4 separate regions of the Homo sapiens genome follow, and regions 1, 2 and 4 are each linked to region 3. The links are contacts of gene promoters, found by promoter capture Hi-C in blood cells and fetal thymus (Javierre and others, 2016). All regions are on one chromosome and are shown on one strand. The core of a region is centred on a gene start or on the middle of the fragment in contact, and the rest is flanking DNA. Distances in the headings are between cores, read along the strand shown.

Region 1 (6,870 bases), core at 3,809-6,308, 330 kb after region 3:
ATCTCAAAAAAAAAAAAAAAAAATGCATTGGATAGGTTTAACGGCAGAATGGATAAAAAGAATGGAAAAGATAGAAGAGTGCATAAAGACATGTGGTTCAAAAAGTCTAATATACATGTAATTTGTGTCCCATAAGAGGAAGAGAGAAGAGAGAACAGGTTCAGAAGCAGTTTTGGACGAAATAAAGGTGATGAATTTTTCCCAAATATGGTGAAAGACATTAACCCACAGATTCAAGAAGCTCAATGAGACCCAAAAAGGAGAAACAAAACAAAATCTTACCTATACACATCATAGTCAAAGCCCTGAAGACCAAAGATAGAAAATCTTAGGTCAGGCCCAGTGGCTTACACCTGTAACCCCAGCACTTTGGGAGGCTGAGGCAGGAGGATTACTTGAGCTCAGGTGCTCAAGACCAGCCTGGGAAGACGATGAGATCCCATCTCTACAAAAAAATTTAAAACATCACCTGGGTGCAGTGGTGTGTACCTGTAGTCCCAGCTACTTGGGAGGCTGAGGCAGGGGAATCACTTGAACTGGGAGGTGGAGGTTGCAGTGAGCAGAGATTGCGCCACTGCACTCCAGCCTGGGTGACAGAGCGAGACTCTGTCTCAAAAAAAAAAAAAAGTAGTTATATAAATATTGATTGCTTAAAACAATAACAATTATGCTTTGTGGAATGTATACATGTATGAATAAAACATAAAATAACAATAATACGAAAAGTAACGGGAATTTTTTTTTTTTGAGACGGTCTCACTGTGTTGCCCAGGCTGGAGTGCAGTGATGCAATCTCGGCTCACTGCAACTTCCACCTCCCGGGTTTAGGTGATCCTTCCACCTCAGCCTCCTGGAAGATATTTAACTGTTGTTAGCTTCTTAAATTGTCTGGGAAGTAGCAAATTAATAACTTAAAGTAGATTATAATATATCAAATATTCATATTATAATCTCCTTCATTAAAAAAAGAAGGTACAGGGTGGGCGTGGTGGCTCACGCCTGTAATCCCAGCACTTTGGGAGGCTGAGGCGGGCGGATCACTCGAGGTCAGGAGTTCAAGACCAGCCTGACCAACATGGTGAAACCCTGTCTCTACTAAAAATATAAAAATTAGTCGGACATGATGTCGGGCGCCTGTCATCTCAGCTACTCAGGAGGCTGAGGCAGGAGAATCACTGGAACCCACCGGGAGGCGGAGGTTGCAATGAGTCGAGATCGTGCCACTGCACCCCAGCCTAGGCGACAGAGTGAGACTCCGTCTCAAAAAAAAAAAAAAAAATGAATAGAGGAGGAGAGAATAAGATAATTTTATTTATTTTTTAAATTATTAAAAAACATTTTTTTTAGAGACCAGGTCTCACTATGTTGCCCAGGCTGGTCTTGAACTCCTGGGCTCAAGTGATCTTCCTGCCTTGGCCTCCCAAAGTGCTTGGATTATAGGCGTGAGCCACCATGCCTGGCTTGAAGTAATTTTTAAGTGCTTGCTTAATAATTTTAAAAATGAGATAGAAGGATGTCCATGTTATGGCATGTGTCAGAATTTCCTTCCTTTTAAAAGCTGAATAATATTCCAGTGTATGGATGTACCACATTTTGTTTATCCATTCATCATAAATGAACACTTGGGTTGCATCCACCTTTGGGCTACTGTGAATAATGCTGTATGAACATGGGTGTACAACTTAGACCACTTTTTCTTAGAGATAGGGTCTTACTCTGTAGTCCAGACTGGAATGCAGTGGTGCAACCATAGCTCACTGCAGCCTCAAACTCCTGGGCTCAGCCTCCCAAATGACTAGGACTATAGGTGTGCACCACCACGTGGGTCTAATTTTTTATTTTTTTATTTTTTGAGACAAGGTCTGGCTCTGGGACTATAGGAGCATACCACCATGCCTAGTTAATTTTTGTATTTTTTTGCAGAGATGGGGTTTTGTCATGTTGCCCAGGCTGGTCTTGAACTGGTAAGCTCAAGTGATCCTCCCACCTTGGCCTCCCAAAGTGTTGGGATTACAGGCATGAGTCACCGTGCACAGCCTAGTTTTTTTGTAGAGATGTTTGTTACCCAGGTTGGTCTTGAACTCCTGTCCTCAAGCAATCGTCCAGCCTCAGCCTCCCAAAGTGCTGGGATTACTGGTGTGAACCAGTGTACCCAGACCTAAATCCTCTTTTTTCCCAGGCTGGAGTGCAGTGGTGTGATCTCAGCTCACTGCAACCTCCACCTCCTGAGTTCAAGTGATTCTCCTGCCTCAGCCTCCTGAGTAGCTGGGATTACAGGCACCTGCCACCACACCTGGCTAGTTTTTGTATTTTTAGTAGAGATGGGTTTTCACCATGTTGACCAGGCTGGTCTTGAACTCCTGACCTCAAGTGATCCGCCCACCTTAGCCTCCCAAAGTGTTGGGATTACAGGCGTGAGCCACCGCACCCGGCTCCTAAATCCTTTTTCAAGTCAACCTTTTAGCTGAACTACAATCTAATTTACTCTTATCTTCAGTTTTGAGACAATGTGGTGGACTGGATGGAGCAGAAAACCTGGAATCAGATAGTCTTGGATTAAAATCCAGGCTCTGCCATTTACTAACTCAGTGATTGTGGACAAGTCACTTGGAAGATGACCCATAATGCATGTAAACATGCCAGGCACACAGTAGGCACACATAGTGGTGATTATTAACATTACTCACATGAGCTCAGACCACCTCCCCAGTGTTAGGCTGGCTGGGGAATATGAGAGACTGTGGCCCTCACAGTGCTGGTGTGGAAGACCGGAGGCTTGTGCTTTTCATAGGGTTCACTTTCTCCCGAAGAGACAAGACAAACCAAAACTTGTAAGAGCTGCCAATCAACTTTTATCTCTATAAAACATGTTGCCAACCAATGATAATTGGCCGAAGAGTACAGTTCATTTTGCTTGAGAATATTACTTCTATTCATCTGACTTTAATTGCCATATGCTGGTGGCAAGACCAGATTATGAATGATTCATGCATAGACACAATGACTAATTAAACCCTAAAGAGACTATTCATTAAAAAGTATAAATGCAAACTTTTTACCCGTGGGCCTGTAAGTAGATGTCTGCAGGAAGCATTTACAGGAAGGTTTATAACCTCAGTTTCTTCTGTAAACAATACTGCAGATGGTGGATGAAAAAAATACTTGTATTCATAAACTATTTCTTATCATGCAAACCATAGTGATTGATAATTCTTTTTTTTTTTTTGAGACAGTAGAGTCTCGCTCTGTCGCCCAGGCTGGAGTGCAGTGGTGCGATCTCAATTCACTGCAAGCTCCACCTCCCGAGTTCAAGCAATTCTCCTGCCTTAGCCTCCTGAGTAGGTGGGATTACAGGCATGTGCCACCACACCTGGCTAATGTTTCGTATTTTTAGTAGAAACGGGGTTTCACCATGTTGGCTAGGCTGATCTTGAACTCCTGACCTCCAGTGATCCACCCATCTCAGCCTCCCAAAGTGCTGGGATTACAGGCATGAGCCACTGCACCTGGCCTGATTGAAACTTCTGTATGCGGTTCCTAAATACTTTGTTTTTTCCTGTTTTGATTATGATATTTTATCATAATCTCTCTGACTCTATATATTTGGTAATACTTATCTATATACCCATTGAGTGATAATAATCTGTATACCCACTGATGTGGGGGCAGAATAAGAGGGTTCTTAAACCATTTATTATAAAGGCTCCTGAAATCCCCACTGGCCTGGGTCTAGCCCTGAGAGATGATGATGACCTTCCTATCTTGCAGCTCTTCCTAGCTAAGACACTCTTCCATTCAACAATTCATTTTTCTCTATCCGCAAAGCAGAATTAAGATTGACAATGTATTTCACAAAACTGTGGCACGGATACATTAAAGAGACAGGACTGATTTTATTTAGAATGCCCCAATATGAGCGGGGCACGGTGGCTCTCGCCTGTAATCCCAGCACTTTGGGAGGCCGAGGCGGGCGGATCACTTCAGGTCAGGAGTTTGAGACCAGCCTGGCCAACATGGTGAAACTGTGTCTCTACTAAAAACACAAAAATTAGCCAGGTTTGGGGGCACACGCCTGTAATCCCAGCTACTCGGGAAGCTGAGGCACAAGAATCGCTTGAACCTGGGAGGTGGAGGTTGCAGTGAGCCGAGATCACACAACTGCACTCCAGCCTGGATGACAGAGCCAGACTCTGTCAAAAAAAAAAAAAAAAAAAAAAAAAGAAGAATCCCCCAATATATAAGCTCCTGCAGCCTGAAAAAGAGATGTGTTGGCTGGGCATGGTGGCTCACACCTGTAATCCCAACAGTGTGGGAGGCCTAGGCGGGTGGATCACATGAGGTCAGGAGTTCAAGATCATGGCCAACATGGTGAAACCCCGTCTCTTCTAAAAATACAAAATTAGCTGGGCATGGTGGTGGGCACTCAGCTACTTGGGAGGCTGAGGCAGGAGAATCATTTGAACCCAGGAGGCGGAAGTTGCCGTGAGCCGAGATCACACCACTGCACTCCAGCCTGGGTGACAAAACAAGAGAGAAACTCTGTCTCAAAAATAAATAAATAAATAAAAAATGAAAGAAAAATAAAAAGAGAAGTTTGAAACAGGGATCACATTGGCCTTGACTGTCCAAATCCTTCCAAGCAAGGAATTTAAAAACCAACAAATGAATCCTATTTCCCCTTCAGGGCAACCACGTGATTCGATGAAGCAAACATAGAGATACGGGAAGGAATATCCCTTAACGGATTTTTAAATTGTTCATCCAAAAGCTTATTGGTCCTGAAATGACCCTTAACCACATTTGTCAGTGGATTCTCAGTAAATTACCACATATCAAAAAAATTTCCTTTAACCTATAAAGTATGCTCCCTCTTTTTTTTTTTTTTTTTAATGCAGTTTGACATATCTCTTCAGGTTTGCTTTTGCATCTGGCTTACAGTCTTGCTGAAAAACTGCCTGGAAGCTACAGACACATGAGCAAGCAGCAGTAGAAACTGCCTTGGAGCAACCACATGTGTGTGCGCACACACACAATCTCTCCAAGTGCAGCTACCAAACTGAAGTCTCCTTGAATTCCCAAGACTAATGAGGAGCCTCTGGCTTTGTCCTCTTTCCCATGCCCCTCCAAATCCATCACGGATCATGTGTATGGAAACTAGAAGAGTGGCCAAAACCTCTACAAACTGGCTGATGTAGTTTCAAGCTGTCAAATCTTTTCTATGCTTTCCCCGCCCCCCCCTCCTTAAAAAGTGGGTCCACAGCAGTGCCATGTATTTTCATGTGGCTGCAGATTCAAAGTCTTTCCTGAACCCGGAATCCCTGTAGGCCAGGGCCAAAGGTGAAGCTTGAGAGGGCACAAAGAATAAGCCCTGTGCGTCATCCACATCACCTCCAGCCCAAGACACCCACACCCAATGGGCCACTCCAACAAAACCCATCTGCTGACCCAAGGGGCTGCATCCTCCTTCTGCAGCCCAGTCACCTTGTAGCACGGAGATGGGGTCACCCTCTCCCCTTGCACATTGCTTCTTTCAGATGATAGCCATTGTCACATGTATAGAGGGGTACACAAGAAACAACACATGTTTTCACCGAGATTCACATTCCTCTTACCCTCAAAGAGCATGGCACAAAATAAAATTAAACTGTGATCTAAAATGGGAACAAAGTTTTTACTGGTGGAAGATGCAAAGCTGTTGCAGACAAAGAATCTCAAGGGCAGACCCTCCTTCTTAGAGAGCATTTCTCCCTGCCTGTGCTCTTGGGGCTGGAATTGAAGTCTGTCCACCTTCTGGTCACTGGTACTGCCTTCTGGAAAGTCTGCACCCAAACCATCTCCAGCTAAACCATTTTCTTCCCTCTTAGGGTCCTCCAACAGCCTTGGAAGCCTAAAGAAATGCTTGTTCCAATGGGTGATCCATACACAGCTGTACCGGACTGTCCGTAGGCTCTTCCCGTTTTTTTCTGATTTTTATATGCTCTGTAAGTTAACTTCTCTTTTACAAGTATCTGAGTTTATGGGGTCAATGACGAGGAAATCACTCATTCACTTGTGTTAGCTGCAGGCTCCTGGAAATGGTGGAAAATTTGAACTTGTGTAGAGAAAGCAGACCGGAGCCCACTTCTAAAAGACAGCAGATTTCATGGCCTATGAAATCCTGGCTTCTGAATGCCCAGAGAATGTGGCCCCCACTTGCTTGCCAGATTCAGGCCCCCTCTCTCTTGTCAAGGTTGGACTTCTTCCCAGATCCTCTCTCCTACAACCTCGAGGCTGCATCTCAGAGACAACACAGTGAAGCCTCTGAGAGCCGTTGAGCACTGAAGTTCTTCTAAGAGGATGCAACAAAACTTTCACCACTCAGCACCAGGAGCAAGCATTTCCTATTCATCTGTTCCTGCAGGGACATGGTCTCCGAGATGGTCAACTGACTCTCCAGACATACTATAAATGGGCTAATGCCGAGTAATTTTTTTGCCCTTTCATGTCATCACATGTAGATTTCTCCAAAGCTATTAAAAATAAATTGTTTGGCCAGGTGTGGTGGCTCACGCTTGTAATCTCAGCACTTTGCGAGGCTGAGATGGGCGGATCACCTGAGGTCAGGAGTTTGAGACTAGTCTGGCCAACATGGCGAAACCCCAACTCTACTAAAAACACAAAAATTAGCCGGGTGTGGTGGCAGGCGCCTGTAATCCCAGCTACTCGGAAGGCTGAGGCAGGAGAATCGCTTGAACCCGGGAGGCAGAGGTTGCAGTGAGCTGAGATGGTGCCACTGCACTCCAGCCTGGGTGACAGAGCAAGACTCCATCTCAAAAATAAATAAATAAATAAAATTGTTCACCCTCCAAGATGCCCTGACTTAAAAGTCAA
Region 2 (5,933 bases), core at 1,560-4,059, 280 kb after region 3:
CTCAGCCTCCCAAGTAGCTGGGACTATAGGCACACAGCACCATGCCCGGCTAATTTTTTTGTATTTTTAGTAGAGAATGGGGTTTCACCATGTTGGCCAGGCTGGACTTAAACTCCTGAATTCAAATGATCCACCCGCCTCGGCCTCCCAAAGTGCTGGGATTACAGGTGTGAGCCACCACGCCCAGCCTGATCAACTGAATTTCAATAAAGCTGTCAAGGTAAGTCAATGAAGGAGAAGCTTCATTTAAAAAAAATAGTACTTGAACAACTAAATATACATATGGCAAAAAGTAACCTTGACAACTATGTCACCCCATACACAAAAACTAATTCAAAATGGAACATAAACCTAGATGTAAAGGTTAAAACTATAAAACATCTAGAAGAAAACATAGCACTATCTTTAGGTAGGCAAAAATTTCTTAGAACACAAAAAGGACTAATCATAATAGAAACATCTGATAAGTAGTTTTCATCAAAATTAAAATCATGTGATCTCAGAAAGATACCATTAAAAAATGAAAAGGTAAACCACAGGAGAAGTTTTTCCCAATATATGTTCGTGACAACTTGTATTCACAATATGTAAAGAACTCTACAAATGCATAATAAGGCAAACATCACCCTCCCATAAGCAAAAGATTTGAAAAGGTGTTTTATAAAAGAAGACATACAAATGGCTAATAAGAACATGAAGAGATGCTCAATATCATTAGTAACTAGAGAAATATAAATTAAAACCGTAATGAGATACCATTACATGCCTACAGGAAGAAGTGAACTTAAAAAGACCAACAATTCCAGGTTGGCAGGATGCGGGACAACTGAATTCTCATACCTTGCTGGTGGGGATGTAAAATGGTATAATCACTTTGGAAAACAAAGTGTAGCAGTTTATTTTGTCTTTTCTTTAAATTCTTTCTTTTCTTTTCTTTTTTTGAGATAGGGTCTCACTCTGTTGCCCAGGCTGAAGTGCAGTGGCATGATCATAGCTCACTACACTCTTAATCTCCTTGGGCTCAAGCAATCCTCCCACCTCAGCCTCCTGAGCAGCTAGGACTACAGGCGTGCACCATCATGCCTGGCTAATTTTTAAATTTTTTTGTAGAGATGGGGTACTGTTATGTTGGCCAGGCTGGTCTCAAAGTTTTGGCCTCAGGTGATCCCCCTGCCTTGGCCTCCCAAAGTGCTAGGATTACAGGCATGAGCCACTGCACCCAGCTGGCAATTTCTTATAAGGATAAATATACACTTATGATATGACCTATAATTCCACTTCTAGATATACCTAAGAGAAATAAAAACATATGTCCATGAAAATACATGCATTTTAAATGTTAACAGCAGTTTTATGGCTCATAGCAGCCCCAAACTGAAACTATTCAAACATCCATTAACAGATGAAAAATTGTGGTATATTCACACTATGGAAAACGAGTTAGCAATAAAAACGAACAAACTACATATTCACATAACATGGATGAACCTCAAAAGCATGATACTGAATGAAAGAGGGCACACGTCCTATTGTTTGATTTCATACAATGGAATTCTAGAACAAGTAAAACTATAGTGCATAAAGATCAGTTGCTATCTAAAGCAAGATGTTGGGGGATATTGACTGCAAAGAGGTATGAGAAAACTTTTGGGGATGATTAAAATGTTCTATATCTTTTTTAGGGTGGCAGCTACACAGGTGTATACATGTCAAAACTCAAAGAACAGTTAAAATCAGTTCATTTTGTTGCATTTAAATTCAATAATAATAAGGTTGATTTAAAAAGGAAAAAAAGGACAACCATTTACTGATCCAGTTCTAGTCATTTATCCTACAGACATACAGATATACATATGACCAAATATTGATATATATAAATGTACATTTCAAAACTGTTTGCAATAGCTTTTAGGACAGTTTTTGGGATGGAAACATTCAGCACTGTTTGCAATAGCTTTTAGGATGCTTTTTAGAATGAAACATCCTAAAAGCACTATTTGCAATAGCAAAACATCTGGAAACGCCCTAAATGCCCTTCAAAAAGAGACTGGTTATTTAAACTATGAAACATGAATATAACAGAATATTATATAGCTGTTAGGGAATCTAATGGAACTCTGTGTACTAATATGGAAAAAACCTTTAAGACATAGTCAGTGAAAAAGATCAAGGAGCAAAACAGTATGTATACTATAATTCTATTTACTTTTCATAGGGTATCTATAGTATATGTGTTTTAAAAGAATGTATAAGAAAAACAGTATATAAAAATAATAAAACAAAAATCCAATTCCTTGAAAATATCAATAAAATCTATAAACCTCTAGCCAGATTGAGGACGAAAAAAGAATGATACAAATGACTAATATCAGCAATGAAAGAGGGGAAATCACTACAGATCTCACAGACAAAGAACAACAAGGAAATATCATGAGCAACTTTTTGCTCACAAACTTGACAACTTAGACAAAATAAACAAAGCCTTGAAATACAAACATACCAAAACTCACTCATAAAAAAAACCTGAGGAGTCTATTAATGAAATTGATTCTATAGTTTAAAATCTTACAACAGAAAACTCAGGGCTCAGAAGGCTTTGGTGAAGAAGTCTACCAAATATTTAAGAATTAGGCTGGGCACGGTGGCTCACACCTGTAATCTCAGCACTTTGGGAAGCTGAGGCGGGTGGATCACGAGGTCAGGAGTTCGAGACCAGCCTGGCCGACATGGTGAAATCCCATCTCTACAAAAAATACAAAAATTAGCCAGGCGTGGTGGTGGGCACCTGTAGTCCCAGCTGCTCGGGAGGCTGAGTCAAAAGAATTGCTTGAACCTGGGAGGTGGATGTTCCAGTGAGCCGAGGTCATGCCACTGCACTCCAGCCTGGGTGAACAGCAAGACTCCCTCTCAGGGAAAAAGAAAAAAGAATGAGCCTGGGTGCAGGTGCCTCAGGCCTGTAATTCCAGCACTTTGGGAGGCCGAGGTAAGAAGATCACCTGAGTTCAGGAGTTTGAGACCAGCCTGGCCAACAAAGTGAAACCTCATCTCTACTAAAAATACAAAAATTATCTGGGTATGGTGGCAGGTGCCTGTAATCTCAGCTACTTAGGAGGCTGAGGCAGGAGGATCATTTGAACCTGGGAGGTGGAAGTTGCAGTGAGCCAAGATTGTGCTACTGTACTCCAGCCAGGGTGATTGAGAAAGACTCCATCTCAAAAAATAAATAAATAAATAAATAAAATTTAAGAGTGAAATAATATCAATTCTACACAGACCAAGGACCTAAACCAAAGATCACAAAAAAAGAAAACAACAGACCAATATACCGCATGAACAAAGACACAAAAATACTCAGAAAAGTACTAGCAAATTGAATCCAGCAATACATAAAAAGTATAACACATATTAAGTGAGGTTTCTTCCAGAAATGAATGTTGGTTCAATGATGAAATATCAATAAAAGATAACCAAACTTAAAAATGGTATTTGAATAGACATTTCTCCAAAGTAGATACACAGATATCTTCTTCGGTCAATAAACACATGAAAAAATGCTCATGTCATTAGTTATTAGAGAAATGTAAATCAAAACCAGAGTGAGAGGGAGGGAAGGGGATTAAAAAAAAAACCCACAGTGAGATACTAGCATTTCCCACCTACTAGGATGGCTATTATCAAAAGAGCAGAAAATAACAAATATTGGTAAGGATGTGGGAAAATTGGAACTCTCATACTGTGGGAATGTAAATAGTACAATCAGGCTGGGTGCGGTGGCTCACACCTGTAATCCCAGCACTTTGGGAGGCCAAGGCGGGTGGATCACTTGAGGTCAGGAGTTCAAGACCAGCCTGCCTGGCCAATATGGTGAGACCCTGTCTCTACTAAAAATACAAAAATTGGCCAGGCATGGTGGTGCATGCCTGTAATCTCAGCTACATGAAAGGCTGAGACAGGAGAATTGCTTGAACCTGGGAGGCAGAGGTTGCAGTGAGCCAAGATTACACCACTGCACTCCAGCTGGGTGACAGAGTTGAGACCCTGTCTCAAAAAAATAATGTAAGATAAAATAAAATAAAATAAAATGATATGATCACTTTAGAAAACAGTTGGGCAGTCATTATATAACCCAGCAATCCCACTCCTAGGTATACACCCAAGAAAAATGAAAACATATATCCACACAAAAACTCACACATGAATGTTCATAGCAGCATTGTTCATTATGGGCCCAAAGTTAATGTCCATCAACTGATGAATGGATAAAGGCAGTATACAGGCATACCTCTTTTATTCTGCTTTGCAAATACTGCCTTTTTTTTTTTTTTTTTTTTGAGAGAGTCTCACTCTGTCACCCAGGCTGGAGTGCAGTGGCACGATCTCAGCTCACTGCAACCTCCACCTCCTGGGTCAAGCAATTCTTCTGCCTCAGCCTCCCAGGTAGCTGGGATTACAGGCACGTGCCACCACACCTGGCTAATTTTTGTATTTTTGGTAGAGATGGGATTTCACCATGTTGACCAGGCTGGTCTCGAACTCCTGACCTCATGATCTGCTCACCTCGGCCTCCCAAAGTGTTGGGATTACAGGTGTGAGCCACCGTGCCTGGCCGTCCCCCACCCCCACTTTTTTTTTTTTAAACAAATTGAAGGTCAGTAGCAACCCTGCATTGAGCAGGTCTATTGGTGCCATTTCTTCAACATCATAGGCTCACTTCATGTCTCTGTGTCACATTTTGGTAATTCTTACAATATAACAATTTATTTATTTATTTATTTATTTAATTTCTGAGATGCAGTCTCACTCTTGTAGCCCAGGCTGGAGTGCAATGGCACGATCTCAGCTCACTGCAACCTCTGCCTCCCAGGATCAAGCAATCCTCCTGCCTCAGCCTCCTGGGATTACAGGCACCTACCACCACGCCTGGCTAAGTTTTTGTATATATGGTAGAGACGGGTTTCACCATGTTGGCCATACTGGCTGTAAACTCCTGACCTCAGGTGATCCGCCCACCTTGGCCTCCCAGAGTACTGGGATTGCAGGTGTGAGTCACTGCACCCGGCTAAACTTTTTCATTATTATATCTGTTATGATGATCTGTTATCAGAGATCTTTGATGTTACAGCTGTAATTGCTGGAGTGCAACAAACCACATCCATATAAGATGGCAGACTTAATCAATAAATGTTGTATGTGTTCTGACTGTTCCACTGACCAGCCATTCCCCCATCTCTCTCCTTCTTGAGCCTCCCTTTCCTGAGACACAACATTATTGAAATTAGGCCAATTAATAACCATACAAAGGCCTCAAAGTGTTCAGGTGAAAGAAAGAGTTGCATGGCTCTCACTTTAAATCAAAAGCTAAAAACCAGTAAGCTTAGTGAGGAACTCATGTTGAAAGTTAAGACAGGCCCAAACCTAGGCCTCTTGCACTAATTAGCCAAGTTATGAATGCAAAGGACATGTTCTTGAAGGAAATTAAAATTGCTACTCCAGTTAAGACATAAATGATAAGGGAAACAGTCTTATTGCTGATAGAAAGTTTTAGTGGTCTGGATAGAGGATCAAACCAGCCATGACATTCCCTTAAGCCAATACCTAATCCAGAGCAAGCCCTTAACTCTCTTCAGTTGTATGGAGGCTGACAGAGGTGAGGAAACTGCAGAAGAAAAATCTGAAGCTAGTAGAGGTTGGTTCATGAGGTTTAAGGAAATAAGCCATCTCCATGACCTAAAAGGGCAAGGTGAAGCAGTAAGTGCTGATGTAGAAACTGCAGCAAGTTATCCAAAAGATCTAGCTAAGATAATAGATGAAGGTGGCTACATTACACAACAGGGTTTCAATGTAGATGAAACAGTCTTCTGTTGGAAGAAGATGTCATCTAGGGCTTTCATAGCTACAGAGGAGAAGTCAACGCCTGACTTCAAAGGACAGGT
Region 3 (6,127 bases), core at 3,466-5,965:
CTCTCTGCTTTCGTGTTCCTACAACTAGTTTGGGTGGGCACTAAACCCCATAGGCCCTGCCTCTCTCCATAAGCCCCACCCAAGGTGGTACAAAAACCCCCATCACTAGCCCCACCCAAGCTCTATTTGGCCCCACCCCAGCCCATACTCATGATCCAGGATGCCCTGTGCGCCCGGCCCTTGGAACTGCTGGAGGCTGAGGATGGTCTGGAAGTTGTCTTTGCGCTGCTCCGCCTTGTCCATATGCGCAGGCAAGTGGCAGTTCAGGAAGCAGAGCATGTGCCCGAAGGCCGCCAGGCGCACGCTCACGCCACCCTTGTTACCCTAGGGAGGCAGGGTCGGATGGCTCATGGGCGGGGCTTAGGCCAGGAGGTGAGGCACTGGGAGCGGGGGTTAGAGAGGAGATGTGGGTGGAAGGTGGGTGGGTCCTACAGAAATGAGGAACAACGCTGGGACACAGTGGGGAGAGAAAAGGGCGGGGGTATAGAGGAATAGGATGGGGTATTGGGTGGTGCATGGGGGGGCTGGGCCGCAGGGTAAAGGGTGGAGGATGGGAAGGGGACCTTGCTGTGCATGGGGCGGGGGGACTAATCTAAAGCCCCCTTCATGTCCCATCCTCTTCTGGGCCTGCTCACAGGCTCACCCAGTAGCCGCCCAGGCCAGTGCGCGTGCAGTCGGTCTGCACGTCTCGCAGGAAGGGCAGGTGGTAGTACTTGGCGAACAGCAGCAGGATGACACCCTGCATCCTCACCGAACTCACCTGCAGCGGGAGGCCACGTGGCTGGGGGACAGAACACAACTCCCCCGCCCTCGCGCCCACCTTCAGGTCTGCTCCTCCACCCACCCATGTCACGGACCCAGCCACAGAGGCCCAGCGGGCCCCACAGTGAGCCAGGGTACAGCTGGAGCCAGGAATTCAGCAGGGTCTCTGGCTGTCCAGGGGGTGAGGGGTGCGTTACCAGCACGAAGTTGAAGGGCCCTAGCGCATCCATGAACAGCTCACTCCACTGGTCCGTGAAGAGGGCGTCCTTGAGTCGCTTGTTGAGCATGGAGTTCACTTCCTGCAACCTGGAGGGGTGGGGGCAGGGTGGCCATGGGATTGGAGAGGTGCCCTGGAAGCCCCTGCCATGGGTGGAGGGCCCGGAAGGCCCGAGGGGCTCAGGAGGGGGTCCACATGCCCTGCCACCTCACCCTATGGCGATCATGTCTGCGCCGTCGCTGTCGTCACCACCGCCCAGGTGGAGGAGGGATGTGACATCGTCTGGGGGCATGGCAGTGCCCACGTTCCATGTGACCACAGTGATCCTGAGGGCAGGGGCATATGAGGGTGTAGTCCTGGCACCACTCCCTCACCCTCAAGCTTCCTTTCACAGGACTCCCTGGGGAACTAAATGGAGGCAGGTGTGGGCCAAAGCCCTAAGAAGGACCCACAGGAGGCCCCGAATCCTGTCCCTCTGCCACACTCTCCCTGGGGAGATCAACTGAGAGGCGGCAAGTTCCTTAGGAGGGGATGCTATCTTCTGAGCGTCACAGAGTGGGCCCAGCAACCCCCTCCCCAAAGACTCTTCCTCAGAGAGAGAAGCTGAGGTAGAGCACACCATCCACCCTGGAAGAATGGCTAACCTCAGAGCTAAGCCCCAGCCACCTTTCTTGGGAGAGGGCCCCCTCACCGGAAGCCGGGGTCGCTCTTCCAGGTAGGCTGAGCTGACCAAGGGGAGGATGACAGGGTGGATGTAGAAGAGGAGGTGGTGACTGGGGCTGGGGCTTCTTGGGCCTGAAGGTTGGGGCTCAGGCACCTGCCAGGCCCTGTACTCTGTGTGCCAAGCCTTGGGAGGGCCATGTCAGGGGCTGGGGGAACACAGGGAGAGCGATTCGGGGAGTGGCTTGGGGAACGGCTGGGTGATCGGGGTGGCTTGGGCAGAGGTGGGGGCACAGTCTGGCCTGAGGGGGCCCCAGGCCGGAAGGTGGGGGACAGAAGTCCAGGGGAGTGAGTGCCAGGCTCTGAAGGACCCTGGCCCACATCCAAGGGCAAGGTCTGGGGTGGCCGTGGCAAAACAGGATCCTCAGGGCTGCTGTGGAGGGCCTCAGGCCGGGCTCGGAAGGAGGGGGAGAGCCGAGGGTCTGGGGAGGTTTGGATGCAGGGTGGGGAGCCTGTAGGACCAGATGTCTGAGCTGGAGGCTGGAGATGCCCCTCAGAAGCAGGGAGAGGTCTAGGGGCTGGGGCATCCCTCTTTCTAGCTGATGTCTGTCCCACAGAGGCTGCGCCTGATGCCGTGGATGCTGGAGCCAGGGCCTGTTCCTGAGTTGGAGACAGAACTGGACTGGGCACCGGGGAAGGGGTGGAGGGGAGTTCTGGGGGCTGCTCCTCAGAAGCCAGGGCCAGGCTCAGGCCAGAGGCTGCCAGTGTTGGCTTGGGTCCCACGGAGGCAGGTGGCTCCTGCTTCTGGTCTCTGGAGGTTGGGGCCAGATTGGGCCCCAGGGTGACTGGGGGAGATCTTGGCCCTGCTGAGGCAGGCATCACCAGCCCCAGGGACGTCGGAGCCAGAACTGAGCCTGTGGTCGCTGGGGGAGGCTTTGGTCCAGCTGAGGCAGACATCACCAGCTGGCCCACAGATGTTGGGGCCAGGCTGGAGCTGCGGTGGGCAGTAGCTGTTTTCTGCCCTTCAGGGGTACACAGTGGAGCCAGGATTGGTCGGGGAGATGCCAGAGCCAGCCTCGGTCCTTCCGAGGAAGCTGACATAGCTGCCCGTGGCCCTACAGGTGCCAGAGCCAACCTTGGTTCCGAGGGTCCTAGGGCTGCGTTCTTCTTTGCTGGGAGCTGAAAACTTGAGTCCACCTTGTGGAGGACAAGTCAAAGATTCAGAGTGACCCTAACCAGGGCATTGGGCCCCAACTTCCATATAGACCCTGGCAGAGTTCATCTAGCTAAGAAAGGCACATCTTTCCAAGGAAGTTCTTCCTACTATCTCACTTCAATCTATTCTGCTGCAGGTCAACTTCTGTCTTGGAGGAGATAGGACACAAAACCCTAACCCCTCCTTTAAGTCTGAAACCTCTTTCACAGATGGGGAAACTCAGACCCTGACTCAAATGAGGCAGAGTGTGAACCTAAACCTGAGGACTTGCCTTGCCTTCCTGGCTGGCACCCACACCCTGCCCATTCGGGGCAGCTTCCCTGGGCAACCCTCCCACTGCAGTCCCTGAAGCTCCCCCAGCCACGGCTACTGACCTGACATCCCAGGTCTGGGCACACTGGGGACAGCCTGTTTCTTTTCTTTTTCTATTGTCAAGATACAGACCTACAGGTGCAGCTTGTTAAATACCTCTCCCTTCCTTCATAATGCCCAGAAACCCTCAGTTCCCCACCGCCCCCTAAACATCCAAATCCCTTGGTTACAGCCCTCTCTGTTCTCTTACCCATTCCCAGAGCTCCACTCAGGAGCAAGAGCTGGGAGCTGAGACTGGCTGTGTAGATTCAAAGCCCAGCTCTGTGTGACCTTAGGCAAGTACCTCTCTGCCCAGCGCCTCAGTTTCTCTGTCTGTAAAATGAAGGGATGGGGTCTAGGGTTCCTGGCCACATTATATTCTGGGGAATCTTCATCTCCCATTGTCTGCATTTATGAGCCCAACATTTGCTAGAATTCCATCTAGCCCCGTTGAATAGTCCATCCTCACCAAGTGTGAATCTAGCATTCAGAGCAAGTCCAGGATTCTAAGTTGATCCTGGTGTCACATCTCTCTGTGCCCAGGTTGTGCCCTCTTACATCCTCCACTTTCTCCCCTACCTGAAAGGACAGGCAAGCAGGTATCCCATTTATGTCCGGCAGGTGGGAGGGGTGGGGAGTCACGGAGTCCTGTAGAGACCTATCCTCCTTCCCCATCTATTCTCTCTGATGTCCCCTGTCTCCAGAAGACAGGATAAAGTGTCCTTCACCAAGGAGGGCAGAAGAATGTCTATACTTGCCCCAGGATGGCCCTAGGTAGGGTAACAGGGCGCAGGGAGGCCCTGCCTCTGGAGACGCACTTCTGTTTCTGTCCCGTATCCTTCTCAGTTCAGAGTACCTAAAACTCCATCTCCACCTCCCTTCTCAAACTCAGTTCTTTGAGGTGGCATTTTAGGCACCCTCCTTGGCTCCAAGTGTCACACTGTGTGCCGGCTTCCCCCCAACTATCACACCGCCTCCAGTACTAACAACTTAGCCATCCCAGATGTCACAGTTTTAGTCTTCAGCGACAAGCCCCCTCATTTTGCATTGGCTCAGAGAGGAAAAGCAACTTGGCCAAGGTCACACAGCAAAGGTGGAGCACAGCTGGGTCCTCTGATACCCAGTCCAGGACTCTCCCAAGGGCTCCTGGAGATGGCTAACTTCATCTGTCTCCGGGCATCCTGTCACTGCCCCTCAGCCCCCAGGGTGCTCTCTTCACCTAGCCCCTGCTCGCTGAGCAGAGGAAAGTACCAGCCCCTCAGTCAGGAGCACCAGGGAGCCTGCAGTGTATGTGGGGGGGGTGTGTGGAACCAGGGATCAGGAAAGCGGGGGGCACTGGGTCTCAGGGGTCTTACCTTGGAGGGTGCCCCAGTTTGGGCAACACCCTGGGGCATGGGCAGGGAACCCAGGCCAGCCCGGGTCCCTGGCCTCCTGCTGCCCCTGCTGCTCTGGCCCTCCATGTCTGCAGCCCCCGGCAGCCTGGACTCCCTTGGCTCCGGCTCCAGCTCTACCGCTCCCGGGAACCAGTGATGTCATCAGCCATTTCAACCTGCTGAGAATTTAAAGGCACAGGCTCCCACTTCCCAGCCTGGAAGAGGCCGAAGCAAGGTGGCTACCCCCTGGGAATCCTTCAAACTGGCTGCTGAGGCTGGAACAGCCATGGAGTGGGGAGGGGAGAGTGTACCCATCTGCCTGGCCCAGGTCCCAACTGGCAGCAGGAAGGAGGCTGTCTGTCTACCTTCACCTTTCTGCCGTAGGCCTGGTCAGCCCTTTGCTCCAGGGAGGGGCATTAACACACCTGCCTTAAGGTAGGACAGGTGGTTCAGAGGTCTGCACCCTCTCCAGGGCCTCAGAGACAACTGAGTTCTTGCCCTGATCCTGTGACCTTCCTGGCTCCCTGCCAGCTCAGAGCTTGCCCCGGCCCCCACCCTTGCCCCATTTTCAGGTCTTGGTGCCACCCTCTCCACTCCTACTGCCAGTCCCAGGCTCTATTCTTCCCAACCCAGAACCAGACACTCAGGCTCCAGCCACTGCAGTCTTTTCCCATCTCAGGCCTCAGCACCAGCCCCTCCTCTTCTGCAGACACCTAGCTGCCCTCAGATGTCCCCACAGCCAGGCCTAACCCAGCCCGGCTTCTGTCAGCTTTCTTCTCTCCAGTATTCACTGGGTGTGGTTTGGGAGGGGAACTTGCTCAAGGTCACCTGGTGAACTGAGAAGGTCTCCTGTGTTTCAGTGAGAAAACTTAGTGACCTAGGATGAGCACAAGCCCTTCGAGCTATCTGGGGGAAGGGAACTTGGGTGGAGAAGGGCCCAGCAGTGGGGTAACAGACTGACAAGAGAGTTACAAACAGGCCTGAGAATTGCTACAGCCAGGACCCAGCCCAGGACATGGTCCCCAACAGGCCTACGGGAGTGTTTGTTGAATGAATAAATGAATTAGAAGAGTGAATGGGTGATGAGGGTCAGATTGGGCTGGGATGGCTGTGGGATCTGTTTCTCATGGCTTAGAGAGGAGTGATCCCACCCACTTTAGGCAGAAAGTGTTCAGAGTTGTGTGTGCAGAGCTCCCTGTTAACCAACATGGAGCATCTGCATGGGCCTGTGCAGTCTCCTACATGAAGGCAGATGCCTCACTTTCCTCTCCTGAAGGCACTTCCTACCTCTGCTTGACTGTCAGTAGGTCTAGTCTGTATTCTCAGGCCAGCATCTCTGCTGGAATTTGCAGGGGCAGAGACTCAGGCCATATTAGAGTGTTGGGGTAGAAAGGTCTTTGGACAGCGATAGTGGAGATGGTGACAGTGGTGACGGGGAAGGCGACTGTGGTGATGGATGTGATGATGTATGTAACTGTGATGATGGAAGTAGGGGGCTAGCAGTGGTTGTGGTGAAGGTGGTGGAGGTGATGGTGATGGCAAAGGTAG
Region 4 (6,492 bases), core at 3,813-6,312, 360 kb after region 3:
TCCTCATCCCCGCCCACCCCACTCTACTGCCTGCTCTAGTTGCTCTAAGGGCAGAGCCTGGGCTGCCTGGGATAATTCCAAGTGCTGGGCTGTGATATCAGAATAGAGTTATGACATCAATGGAGGGTAGGCGAGCCTAGGGGAGGCGAGAACCGGGGAGCCCCTGAGGCGCTAGGCTAGCCCCCCAGAAGTGAAGGCCCAAGAGGGAGGTGGCCAGCTCTGTATCGGTTTCTTACAAACCTGAACATCAGAAAATGACTCACAGGTACGGAGAGATTTGTTGCAAGCCAGCCAACCTGCTGGTGCTTCCCTAGACACTGAGTTACAGAAAAGAAAGCGAACAAGCCATCTTCTAGCGCCCCCCTGTGTCAAGTAAAAGGATACTATCTCTTTTCTGACTTGGAGGTTTGCCTTTGGACCAGGGAGTTGGGAGCAGAGACCCCAAGTGGGCTGGGGGTCAAGGTCCCCCAGGATAGGGTTAAATGCTCGTAGATAAAATGCAGGATGCCCAGTTACATTTGAATTTCAGACACACAATAAATAAATTTTAGTATATAGACTGCCCAAATATTGCATGAGACATCCTTATACTAAAATATTATTCGTTTTGTATTTGAAGCTCAAATTAAACTGGGTGACCTGTGGGTTTTTTTTTTTTTTTCTGTCACTCTGTTGCCCAGGCTGGAGAGCAGTGGCTCAATCTCGGCTCACTGCAACCTCCACCTCCTGGGTTCAAGCAATTCTCCTGCCTCAGCCTCCCAAGTAGCTGGGATTAGAGGCATGCACCACCACACCTGGATAATTTTTGTATTTTCAGTAGAAACAGGTTTCACCATGTTGGCCAGGCTGGTCTTGAACTTCTGACCTCAAGTGATCTGTCCACTTCAGCCTCCCAAAGTGTTGGGATTACAGGCGTAAGCCACTGCACCCGGCCAACCTGTGTTTGTATATTTTGAATCTGCCAATCCCACTCAAGGAGCTTTTGAAAAAAAATACAAATACCCTCTGCACCCAAAAGTCATTCTCATTCTGTTTTAGCAGGGCAGGGGACTTCTTGGGAACCTGTATTATTTTAAAGCTGCGAAAGTGACTATCAATAACTGCAGCTTACTTTAGTCGAGTGTTTGCCAAGCCGTGTGCCAAGATCTCTTCACACATTATCTAAACTAATCCTCACAGCACCTCTAAGAGTTGGTTCTATCATGAAACCCATTTTACAAAGGAGAGAAATGATGCAAAAGACGGCAAGCAACTTGTCCAAGGTCACACAGTGGGTAAGTGTGGGAGCCACGATTTGAACCCAGGCAGGCTGGCTCCAGCATCTCTGCTTCCACTGACTTAGAAATCTTTGATTGAAGGGACCCTGGGAAGCACAGAATTGAAGCTTCTAGGGGACTGACAAGCGGGGACTCTGAGGCTCTAGGAAGCCCATGCTCAGACTAACTGCTACGCTACCATGCTCGAGGGGCTGAGCCAAGGAGCAAACACCTGGGAGCAAACATCTGGCCCAGGCAGGAGGCTGGCTCAGAGAAGGCTTTCCTGAATGGCCTCTCCCTGGAGGGTAAACAGACTTGAGGAAAATAGGGTGTGGGAAGGGGCTGGATACTAGGGAACAGACCTTGCCAACAAGAGGTACAGCATTCACGCTGGCTGGCAGCAAGATGGTGTGCCAGTGAAGACAGCAGAAGCTGGATGGGTCTAGAGCGCAAGAGGAGCCAGAGAAGAGACATAAATCAAAATTGCATTTTTTTTTTTTGGAGACGGAGTCTTGCTCTGTTGCCCAGGCTGGAGTGCAGTGGTGCAATCTCAGCTCACTGCAAGCTCTGCCTCCTGGGTTCACCCCCTGCCTCAGCCTCCCGAGTAGCTGGGACTACAGGCGCCCGCCACCACGCCCGGCTAATTTTTTGTATTTTCAGTGGAGACAGGGTTACACCGTGTTAGCCAGGATGTCTCGATCTCCTGACCTCGTGGTCCACCCGCCTTGGCCTCCCAAAGTGCTGAGATTACAGGCGTGAGCCACCGCGCCCGGCCCAAAATTGCATTTTATTTTTATTTTATTTTTTATTTTTTATTTTTTGAGATGGAGTCTCACTCTGTCACCCAGGCTGGAGTGCAGTAGTGTAATCTCGGTTCACTGAAACCTCTGCTTCCCAGGTTCAAATGATTCTCTCCTGACTCAGCCTCCAAATAGCTGAGACTACAGTTGCACACCACTATGCCTGGCTAATATTTCTATTTTGGGTAGAGATGGAGTTTCGCCATATCGCCCAGGCTGGTCTCGAACTCCTGGGCTCAAGTGATCCACCCGCCTCGGCCTCCCAAACTGCTGGGAGTATTATAGTTGTATGGTTTACATTTTGAGTTAAATTTTATATAAATAAGAAGTATAAATCAAGATTCATTTTATTGCATATGGATGTCCAATTGTTCCAACACTACTTGTTGAAAAGACTAACCTTTCTCAATTAAATTGTTTCTGCACCTCTGTCAAAAGCCATCTGACCATATTTGTCTGGGCCCATTTCTGGACTCTCCATTCTGTTCCATTAATGTATATGTCTATCTCATTAATCTATATAGTGTTTGCCAACATCACACTGTCTTGTTTCTTTATGATAAGTCTTAAAATTGAGTAATTACTCCACCTTTATTCTTCTTTTTCAAAGTTGCTTTAGCTAGTCTAATTTCTTTATCTTTTCATATAAATGTATAATAAGTTTGTCTATGCTGAGAAAATGTCCTGCTGGGATTTTTTTTGGAATTGCATTCAAGCTACTGATCAGTCAAGGGAAAACTGACGTCTTTACTCTCTTGAATCTTCTGATCCATGAGCATTGTATGTCTCTCCATTTATTTTGGTCTTCTATTTCATCAGTATTTAACACTATTTACATATAGATACTATATTTGTTTTGTTATAATTATATCTAAGTATTTCATGGGGTCATTGTAAGTGATTTTTAAAAATTTTTTGTTACCAATTGTTCATTGCTAATACACAGAAATATGACTGGCCTTTATGTACTGACCTTGTATTCTGTGACCTTGTTAAACTCACTCTAAAAATATTTTTGTAGATTTCCTGGGATTTTTCTACACAGCCATCATGTCGCTTGCAAATAGGGATAGCTCTGTTTCTTTCTTCCCAATCTGAGTGCCTTTGACTTCTTTTTTCTTGCATTATAATACTGGCTAGTATTAGGATGAATATGAGGGGTGAGCATGGACATCCTTGACTTTACTGATCCTAGGCGGAAAGTAAAGCATTCAGTCTTCTATCACTACATATGATGTCAGTTTCTTGAAGATGCCCTTAATCAGGTGGAGGAGTCTCCTAGTTTGCTGAGAGTTTTTACCATGAATAATGTTAAATTTTGTCAAATGCCTTTTTCTGTATCAATTGATATTATAATGTAGTTTTTCTTAGATTGTTAATATTATGATTCCATTTATATTGATTTTCTTTTTTTTTTCTTTTTTTGAGACAGAGTCTTGCTCTGTTGCCCAGGCTGGGGTGCAGTGGTGCGATCTCCACTCACTGCAACCTCCGCCCTGCCAGGGTTCAAGCGATTCTCCTGACTCAGCCTCCTAAGTAGCTGAGACTACAGGTGTGCACCACCATGCCTGGCTAATTTTTGTATTTTCAGTAGAGACAGGGTTTCACCATGTTGGCCAAGCTGCTCTTGAACTCCTGACTTCAAGTGATCTGCCTGCATTGGCCTTCCAAAGTGCTGGGATTACAGGTGTGAGCCACTGCCCCCAGCCCCATTTATTGATTTTCAAACATGGAACCTATCTTGCACCTATCTTGCACTCATCTTGCACTCCTAGCATGAAATCCACTTGATCATGGTGTAATATTCTATTGTATTGCTGGTTTCAAATTGTTAATATTTTGTTGAAGATGTTTTCATCTATGCTCATGAGAAATATTGGTCCGAAGTTTTCTTTTCTTACACTATCTTTGTTCAGTTTGGTATCAGGGTATGCTGTCCTTATAAATGAGTTAGAAATTACTCACTCCTGTAATCCTAGCACTTTGGGAGGCCAAGGCGAGCAGATCACTTGAGGTCAGGAGTTTGAGACCAGCCTGGGCAACAGTGCAAGACTCTGTCTCAAAAAAAAAAAAAAAGCCGGGTGCAGTGGCTCACGCCTGTAATCCCAGCACTTTGGGAGACCAAGGCAGGCGGATCACCTGATGTCAGTAGTTCAGGATGACCCTGGCCAACATGGTGAAACCCTGTCTCTACTAAAAATACAAAAAAAAAAATTAGCTGGGCGTGGTGGCACATGCCTGTAATCCCAGCTACTAAGGAGGCTGAGGGAGGAGAACTGCTTGAACCTGGGAGGCAGAGGTTGCAGTGAGCCAAGACTGCACCACTGCACACTCCAGCCTGGGCAACAGAGCGAGACACTGTCTCAAAAAAAAAAGAAAAGAAAAATTAAAAAAGAAAAGAAATTACTCATTCCTCTTCTGTTTTCTGGAAGAGATTGTGTGGAAATAGTGTTATTCTTTTTTCAAATATTTGATAAAATTTACCTGTGAAATCATGTAGGCCTGAAGACTTCTTTTTTGAAGTGTTTTAAACTATGAATGCAACTTCTTTAATAGTTATAGGATTATTCAGTTTATGGATTTGATCTTGGGCAAGTGTTAGAATTTGATTTTTGAAGAATTGGTTCATTTCATCCAAGTTGTCAAATTTGTCAGCAGAGTTGTCTGTAGCATTCCTTTTATGTATTATGTATCTATTTTATGTTTTTGTAGTATTGTCCTTTTATGTTTGTTAGTGCTATTAATTGTTTATTTCATTCCTGATGTTGGTAATTTGATATTTTCATTTTAGCAGTCTATCAAATAAGTTGGGTTAAGGCCACAGGTAGTGACCAGCCGTCTCTGGGTGGTGGTTTCACTGTTTGTTCCATTTTCAAAGCCTTTGCAGTACTATTTGTTTTTGTTTTTGAGACAGAGTCTTGCTCTGGAGTGCAGTGGTGCAATCTCGGCTCACTGCAAGCTCTGCCTCCCAGGCTCAAGCGATTCTCCTGCCTCAGCCTCCCGAGTAGCTGGGATTACAGGTGTGCACCACCACGCCTGGCTAATTTTTGTATTTTTAGTAGAGACGGGGTTTCACCGTGTTGGCCAGGCTGGTCTCGAACTCCTGGCCTCAAGTGATCCACCTGTCTCGGCTTCCCAAAGTGCCAGGTTACACTGCGCCCGGCCCTTTGCAGTACTAGTTGGATCTGTTCCACATGTGTGCCAGCCAGTGGCCACAGGGACGTGGGTATTCATGCAGCTTTAAGTTCAGTTCTCAAAATCTTTAGTATGCTGTTTAGGATCAGATCCATCCATGTGCGGCTTGAACGTGAAGCCAGGAGTTCATGAAAACAACGTTATGGGGTCACTTTCCCAAGGTGTTCTCTTTCTGTGATTTCCTGTTTTTTTCTGGTTCTCTTGGGCTCTGTTTCAGTCCTCTGGCTGCCCACTTCCCACCACCACACCTATATCGGGGGCTAAGTGGTAGGAAGAGTGAGAGAAAAATGGAACAGGGGTTCCCTCACTTCTTGGGCCCAGAGCTCTTCCTACTGGTGTGCATGGATTCCTCTGAGTTTTTGGTACCTGCAGGCCTCTCATCGCCACTGCTATCACTGACAGGGGACCCTTTCCTCCTTGAGCCTGAACTAGAGGGCTTCTCCAGGAGTTTTCTCTGTCTGCTCACTTCTGGGTCTCCCCTGAGTCCACTCTAGAAGATACTGGAGGGAAAAAATTGTAACCTCACCACCTGTTTGGTGTTACCTCAGATTCTGGTCTTCTCTAGTCTGCTTGTGGCTACTTAATTTTCAGGGTGCTCAAATAGCTGCTCTGTGCATTCTGTCCACATTTTATTTTATTTTATTTTTGAGACAGAGTCTCGCTCTGTCACCCAGGCTGGAATGCAGTGGTGCCATCTCGGCTCACTGCAACCTCTTCCTCCCGGGATCAAGTGATTATCACACCTCAGCCTCCCCAGTAGCTGGACTACAAGCGTGCGCCACCACACCCGGCTAATTTTTGTATTTTTAGTAGAGATGGGGTTTCACCATGTTGGCCAGGCCGGTCTCGAACTCCTGGCCTCAAGTGATCGGCCTGCCTCAGGCTTCCAAAGTGCACGGATTACAGGCATGAGCCACTGTGCCTGGCCCTGTCCATGTTTCATAGCTGCAGAGTGAAACCTTCTCACTTAATCCTACCTGGAACTGGAACTGAGCAGAATTGGATTTTAAAAGACTCACTCTTGCTGTCCAGACTCTGGGAGGTCAGATAGTGAAACTGGGTTGGAGGCCAGGCAGATGGAGGGCAGTGGGCAGATGTGAAAGTGCTCAGGTCTGGCACTGACAGGATCTGCTGACAAGCTGCACATGAGGGATCAGGGAGGGCAGGACTCAAGGTGACACCCAGGTTCACTTCTTAGTCATCTGCCAGGTCTGGAAAGTGACCTGAGACCTTGGCTAGTA

Evidence for each region. Contacts are between HindIII fragments. The CHiCAGO score rates a contact against its expected background, and 5 or more counts as called.
Region 1: a fragment that was not itself captured here is called in contact with the fragment with the promoter of INPP5J in region 3 in 1 of 17 cell types (M1 macrophages); the score reaches 7.8 in M1 macrophages.
Region 2: a fragment that was not itself captured here is called in contact with the fragment with the promoter of INPP5J in region 3 in 2 of 17 cell types (M2 macrophages and M1 macrophages); the score reaches 5.6 in M2 macrophages.
Region 4: a fragment that was not itself captured here is called in contact with the fragment with the promoter of INPP5J in region 3 in 1 of 17 cell types (M1 macrophages); the score reaches 5.8 in M1 macrophages.

Annotation. Positions count from the first base shown.
Region 1 is chr22:30,788,672-30,795,541 of GRCh38, reverse strand. All of the region lies in intron 2 of OSBP2 (oxysterol binding protein 2), which reads right to left. Among named protein-coding and RNA genes, the nearest start is that of MIR3200, 61 kb to the right of the region's middle. The HindIII fragment of the contact is 575 bases long and covers 4,771-5,345 here.
Region 2 is chr22:30,844,277-30,850,209 of GRCh38, reverse strand. All of the region lies in intron 2 of OSBP2 (oxysterol binding protein 2), which reads right to left. Among named protein-coding and RNA genes, the nearest start is that of MORC2-AS1, 75 kb to the left of the region's middle. The HindIII fragment of the contact is 5,133 bases long and covers 243-5,375 here.
Region 3 is chr22:31,121,554-31,127,680 of GRCh38, reverse strand. INPP5J (inositol polyphosphate-5-phosphatase J) reads right to left here and starts at 4,715. Exons shown (of 13, transcript NM_001284285.2): 1 at 4,562-4,715; 2 at 1,671-2,836; 3 at 1,192-1,305; 4 at 960-1,068; 5 at 644-760; 6 at 149-324. The coding sequence starts at 4,666. The HindIII fragment of the contact is 6,854 bases long and covers 1,363-6,127 here.
Region 4 is chr22:30,757,807-30,764,298 of GRCh38, reverse strand. The region is part of intron 2 of OSBP2 (oxysterol binding protein 2); the gene reads right to left. Among named protein-coding and RNA genes, the nearest start is that of MIR3200, 29 kb to the right of the region's middle. RefSeq lists a silencer at 320-369. The HindIII fragment of the contact is 7,351 bases long and covers 1,387-6,492 here.